2 separate regions of the Homo sapiens genome follow, and region 2 is linked to region 1. The links are contacts of gene promoters, found by promoter capture Hi-C in human tissues and cell types (Jung and others, 2019). All regions are on one chromosome and are shown on one strand. The core of a region is centred on a gene start or on the middle of the fragment in contact, and the rest is flanking DNA. Distances in the headings are between cores, read along the strand shown. Region 1 holds the start of ITGA8 (integrin subunit alpha 8). Region 2 overlaps MINDY3 (MINDY lysine 48 deubiquitinase 3).

Region 1 (3,464 bases), core at 963-3,462:
ATAGTCTGTTTTGCTTTGAAATATTTTCATATTTATGAAACTGAAATTGTTTTCTCCTTTAACATAAAAGATACAAATTATAGTAACAAGTAAACATCATCCAGCCAATTTCATCGAAATTCTGTGAAAATATTCCGCATAAATTCCATATACGCACTAATCAAACAATTAAAAATCAAAGAAATCAAGTATGTCATAAAATAGTTGTGTGGTACACAAGGTATTTTAAACGATTATTTATCAAGGACCATTGTTCAAGCTGACATATTCGCATTTTTCTGGAAAGAGATATTTGCTTTCTGATAATATATACCTTTTGAATTCATAAAGTTTTGGTGGTAAAAATTAAAGCATTCGGTGTTAATGTTTTTGAAAGCATCGCATTTAAATTATTTTCTCAGGCTCTAAAGAGAAAACACCAGAGGAAACGTAACCAGACTGAATTGTTTAAAATGTATTTTCCCTTTAATTAAATAAGAAACATCTGTCTAGGGATTTTGGAAATGAATGTAATCCATCCACACTCTGCCTGCACTAGTTTGCATTCAATGTCTAATACTTTGAAAGAAAATTCTTTCTTTCTGTAAAGAATTAAACAGCAACGCGGAGTGATGTCTGGGTCTGCAGCAGCTAAGTCCTGCCTCCCGAGCTTGGGCACTGGAAACGCTAAGGATCTCTCTTTTTCCAGATCTGTCCTTGAGAAGCAACCAAATTCTCTCCACAGTCAAAGTTAGGACATAGTTTTTGTATTTCTCCAAAACATCCACTCACCCTGAAAATGCTCATCTCAGAAAGGTAAAGAAACAGGAGTTGCCAGGATGCATCCGAACACTCAGGGTCAAAATAGTGTCCTTTCTCTAGGGTTCACTAAACGTCTTCCTTCAGTTAACTGAGAGTTGAAAAAACTGATTTCTCTAGAGACCCACATAGCCCACAATACGGACATATCAGACAAGCTAAACGAGCAGCACACCAAGACAGCGGGAAGTCGCCTCTGGGATGGCCCTGGTTCTTCCAAACCCAGGCCCACAGCTTAGAAGGACAAATCTCACTTACTGGTGGTGTCAAACGGTATCTGCCTGCACTGCGCAGACCCCTCCGCGGGCCAAGGACAGTAATAGACGGCTCCCCCTTCCACGATATCGGGCTGGCTGGTGTTGGCTTTGGGCGCCCCCACCAAGACACTCGCTCTGCAAAAGAGTTGGAGAAAGTCACTCTTTGGGCGCCACAAAACCGTGCGCATGCAATGCAGTCTCTGTAACCTCCTGCCCGGGGACACTGGGGCAGGCGTGGAGGGCATGAACGTATTTATGATGAGGACCGACTGTCAAACTTGATTTCCTCTTGGAAACGGGGGTCCGCAACCTGGTTTGCAAGAATGCAAACGGTCCTGCTTCTCTAGGTGGAGCTCTGTGGGTACAGTGAGATGAGAGAAGGGGGTGGGGTAGGAGGAAGCCAAGGACAGAGCCCAGCTGCTGGTAGCCGACAGCTCTTGCGCCCAGACGCAATGGTTACAGACTCTGCATAAACAGACCTCGCTGTGGTGGCGGTTTTAACTGGCTTGGGTCTTCTGGGTCCTGTTCTCTCCTTTGTAGGATGCGTGCGTCTTGGTACCTGGAACACCCAGGACTTGCGTGTTCTATGCAAGTGGCATGTCTCTAGCTCAAAATTCACAAGGCACATCTAGCATGGCAGGGGAGAGAAGGGGCTGGTGGCGGGGAGAGGGACGGGACCCCGGGCAGGCGGCAGGACGGGGATCCCAGGCTGCGGGGGGACTCCGCGGCAGAGCCGCTGGGACCTGACCCGGGAGCGCCTTCGTCCCCGCGCGCACCTCCCCGGGTCGGGCGACTTACGTGCGGGCGTCGGGTATGTGGAAGTCCACGGCGTAGCCGAAGTAGCTGCCCTTGGGGCCGCTGTACACTGTGAGCTTTTCCACGTCCAGGTTGAACGCCTGACAGGCGGGGGACCACAGCAACATCCCCAGCGCGGCCGCGGCGCAGCAGAGGGGCGCGATCAGCGGCGCCTGGCTTCCCCGGGGACCGCGGCTGGCCCCGGGCGACATCTCCCTCCGCCCCGGTGGGTGGCTGCTACCCAGGAGCGCGAGCCGAGGACCCCTGCGGGGCAAGGGGGGCTGGTGGAATCTGGCGGTCCCCAGCTGCCCGTGTCCCGGGTCGGTGCGCTCGGCGCACCCGTGGTGACAGTGCCCGGCGTCTGCTCCCACCCGCCCGCCCGCCCAGCCGGCTCGGGGGGCTGGCCCAGGGGCTCTAGCCCTCCTCCGGCCGCGGGCAGGGACCAGCTCTCTCGCGGCGCCTCCTCGCGGCTGGTCTAGAGCCAGGGACTCCCGGGCGGCCCAGCTGGTGGCTGGAGCGCTGGGTGCCTCTTCGGGCTGCCCGGATTTCTATTGCAGTCCCATCTCAAGGACAATCAGTTTCGTCTCTGTCACCTCAAGCTATTTATTGCTTTAGAAGCAATGCCCCAGGTGGAGCGAGAGCTTGCTCCAGTTGTGTCAAAGGCGCAGCTTGGATGGAGAATGTGAAAACCAACCCCACCACCAGGAGGGGCAAAGCAATTATCTCTTCATCACCTCTGCAGCCTGACCTCAGCGTTCACGGCTTTGCACGTCTGTGATGAGAGTTAAAGTTGAAATGCAACAACCCTCTCCTCCCCTAAGTCCACCCCACCTCCTGGCAGAGCTAACTCATATACAAGAAAGCCTCGAGGGTTTTTTTTTGTTTTTGTTGTTGGGTGTCTGTGTGTGTGTGTGTGTGTGCGCGCGCGCCTGTGTGTGTGCATGTGTGAATTTTTTGTTTTTGTTTGTTTGGTTGGTTTGCTTTGTTTTATTTATTTTTTTTTTCTTTTTAGAGATAGGGTCTCTCTCTCGCCCAAGCTGGAGTGCAATGGTGCTATCATAGATCAATGAAATCTCAAACTCCTGGGCTCGAGCGATCCTCCTGCCTCAGCCTCCTGATTAGCTGGTACTGCAGATGACACATCACACCTGGTTAATTTTCTAATTTTTTTTTGTTGACACTGAGTCTGCTCATGTGGCCTAGGCTGGTCTCGATCTCCTGGCCTCAAGCCGTCCTGCCACCTCGAGTTGACTTTTAAAATTTCTTTTCTTTCTTTGTTTCTCTTTCTTTCTCCTTCTTCTTCTTCTTCTTTTTTTTTTTTTTTTTTTTTTTAAGGAGATGGGGGTCTCACCATGTTGTTCAACATGGTCTTGAACTCCTGGACTCAAGCGATCCTCCCACCTAAGCCTCCCACAGTGCTGGGATTTCAGGGTAAGCCGCCTTGCCCAGCCCTTGAGATTTTATTTAAATCTTTCTTAAAGGCATCTTGGGCATATTAAATGACTTAGTAGTAAATCTCCATCCTGTGTAATTGTGATGAAGTTTGGCGCAGTTAAGAATGTTGGAATTTACAGTTTACTTTCTGCGGGGGTAGAAGGTGTAGTTCACAGTCTA
Region 2 (3,229 bases), core at 123-2,622, 80 kb after region 1:
TAGAAAGAAATTAAAGTAAACCTTAATGAAAAGTATACCACACATCTCTTTCTTGCCTGTGGTTCTGAACAGGCTATACAAGCTCACCTGCTATAGAAAGAGCATTTGGAACTTAGGCAAAAATCTCGGTGGACTCTAGTTAACATGTGTTCATTTAGAGCAGGGTTTGGCAAGCATTTTTCTGTAATGGGCCACAGAGTAAATTTTTATAGTAAATTTTTATGTTTTGCAGGGCATATGGTCTTAGCAGCAAAACACATGGCCATGGCTATGTTCCAATAAAACTTTACTGAAGCAGGTGGTGACTTTATTTGGCCTGAGGGCCATTTGCTGACCTATGATTTAGATAATATATTACATATTTTTTCCCCCAAATGCTCTAACATTTATTTATTTTTTTTAGATGGAATCTTGCTCTGTTGCCCAGGCTGGAGTGCAGTGGTGTGATCTTGCCTCACTGCAACCTCCACCTCCCAGGTTCAAGCAAATCTCTGCCCCAGCCTCCCTAGTAGCTGGGATTACAGGCATCCACCACCATGCCCGGCTAATTTTTGTATTTTTAGTAGAGACCGGGTTTCACTATCTTGGCCAGGCTGGTCTTGAACTCCTGACCTCATGATCCACCCACCTCAGGTTCCTAAAGTGCTGGGATTACAGGCTTGAGCCACTGCAACCAGCCTTTAACATTTATTAAACATGCCAACTTTTTGATATATGGGGGGAGTAAAGACATCTTAATCACTTTTACAGATTTTACAAAGAATATATTTTGGCTATTAGCAGAAATAGAAAAGAGGGCACAGAATTCTAGCTAGAAGGAACGGAATCAGGAAAGGCAGGGAGATGTGACTTCATAGCACACAGGGAAACTGAAAAAGGTGAACAGGACTGAGAACTGTGACAGAAAAGGAGGACTTAGGAAGGGAAATGAGCTTTGACAGAAGAATGAATTTGATTTTCGAACTTTTAGAGTTTGGAGGTAATGGTTAAACATCCAAGTAGAATACATGGAGTTATCTTAATACTTGGCACACTACGAACACTCACTGTTAGCTAACTGCGAGCTTCTCGTGAGCTATTAGAAATAGAATATTAGTGTTAGACTGAGGTTACGGCTGGGGAACTTGCAAGGGAAAATATTGAAAACTTATGGAAGCAGATTCCTTCAAAGAACTAAGAAGCGAGTACAGTTGATCCTCAAACAACATGGATATGAACTGCATGGGTCCACTTATATGTGAATTTTTTCTCAATAAATATATTGGAAATTTTTCTTGGAAGAAATTTTTCTTGGAAATTTGTGACAATTTGAAAAACTCGCAAACTGTGCAGCCTAGAGATATTTTCAAAAGTTAAGAAAAAATTAAGTATGCCATGCATGCATAAAATATATGTAGATACTAGTCTATTTTTTCTACTACCATGAAATGCCACAAATCTATTATAAAAAGTTAAAATGTATCAAAACAGGGGCATACGGACTGTACCTGGCACCACTCACAGTCAAGAGATGTAAACGAATGTAAAGATGCAGTATCAGATCACAACAGCATAAAATTAACTTTAGTGCATACTGTACTACTGGAATAATTTCATCACCATCTCCTGATGCTATTGTGGTGAGCTTGTGTTGTATCTGCTCAGAGCACAAGTATGGCGCTAATCATCTCCGCATGTGCAGCCCATCACTCCAGTGAGTTCCACATCACAGTAAAAAGTGATCTTAAGCAGTTCTCACATACTTTTCATCATGTTTAGTGCAATACTGTAACTCTTGAAAAAAAACCATGGAACCCATATGAAGTGCCACTAGTGATGCCGGAAGTTCTCCCAAGAAACCAAAGTCAGGACGTAAGAAAAAGTGGAATTGCTTGATATGCACCATGGATTGAGGTCTGCTGCTGTGGTTGCTCACTATGTCAAGATAAATGAATCCAGCATAAATATCGTAAAGAAAGAAAAGGAAATTCCTGAAGCCATTGCTGCAGCCATACAAACCTTCCGCTTTTTGCAAAATACCTCCTTGTACAAAAAATGCAACTTGTATGTAAGTGCAGGGTTGCTATAGGAAAGGCACACCTTTAGATTCTAATATGATTTAAGAAAAAGTGCAGTCATTATACAAGCTAAAGCAAAACAAAAGTAAAGGAGCTAAAGGTGGAGAACTTAATGCCAGCAAAGGATGGTTTGATAATTTTAGAAACTGGTTTGGCTTTAAAAATATCAAGGTAACAGGAGAAGCAGCTTCTGCTAACAAAGAGGCAGCAGTTAAGTTCTCAGAAACCATTAAGAAAATCTTTGAGAAGAAAGAATATCTGCCTGAACAGGTTTTTAATGTGGACAAAGGTGTCCTATTCCGGCATGGGGGGGAAATGCCATAAAGGACATTTATAAGTAAGGAAGAGAAGGAAGCACTAGGATTTAAGACAGAAAGGAAAAGGCTACTGTTTTATGCACATGCAGTCAGGGTGATGACCAGGACTGCCCTTATTTATAAAACTGCTAAACCCAAGCTTTGAAGGGAAAAGATAACACCAGCTGCCAATCTTTTGGCTGTATAAGAAAGAAGGCCTGGAAGAGAATGCTTTCTCTGGATCAGTTCTATCAATGCTGTGTACCTGAAGTTACCTAGTACCCTGCCAGTAAGAGACCACCTTTTAAAGTTCTTTTGATATTGGACAATGTCCCTGGCCACCCAGAATCCCATGAGCTCACCACCAAAGGCACCAAAGTAGTTAACTGCCCTCAAACACAACATCACTAATACAGCCTCTAGATTAGGAGGTCATAAGGACCCTTGAGGCTCATTACACACAGTAGTCTGCAGAAAAGATGATATGGTTATTGCTATTAAAGAGAACCGCAACAGCAAGAACAACATGGAAGTCTGGTAGGATTACAGTACTGAAGAGGCCATCACTGTTACAGAAAAAGCTAATCCATCTGGCCCAAAACATATTCCTGCTAGAGAACACTGTGTCCAGATATTGTGCATGAGTTCATAGGATTTACAGAGCCAATCAGAGTAAAGGGTTTCAAGATAAAGATCTTGGAGAAATTCAAGAGCTAACAGATACCACATCAGAAGAAATAACAGAAGATGGCTTGATAGAGATGAGTGCTTCTGAACCAGTGCTGGACAATGAGGAAGATGACGTAGAAGAAGCAGGGCCAGAATACAAACTGACATTCATTATAATTTTAACATATTCTTTTCTCCGGCTTACGA

The links. Contacts are between HindIII fragments. The study calls those that stand out against the background at their distance.
Region 2: a contact is called between a fragment that was not itself captured here and the fragment with the promoter of ITGA8 in region 1, in 2 of the 25 tissues and cell types used here (aorta and mesendoderm cells).

What each region holds. Positions count from the first base shown.
Region 1 is chr10:15,717,710-15,721,173 of GRCh38, forward strand. It overlaps ITGA8 (integrin subunit alpha 8), which reads right to left and starts at 2,213. Exons shown (of 30, transcript NM_003638.3): 1 at 1,854-2,213; 2 at 1,057-1,190. The coding sequence starts at 2,062. The HindIII fragment of the contact is 28,165 bases long and covers 1-3,464 here.
Region 2 is chr10:15,798,818-15,802,046 of GRCh38, forward strand. All of the region lies in intron 10 of MINDY3 (MINDY lysine 48 deubiquitinase 3), which reads right to left. The region is part of intron 2 of LOC124902383 (a long non-coding RNA gene); the gene reads left to right. Among named protein-coding and RNA genes, the nearest start is that of MINDY3, 60 kb to the right of the region's middle. The HindIII fragment of the contact is 6,130 bases long and covers 1-3,229 here.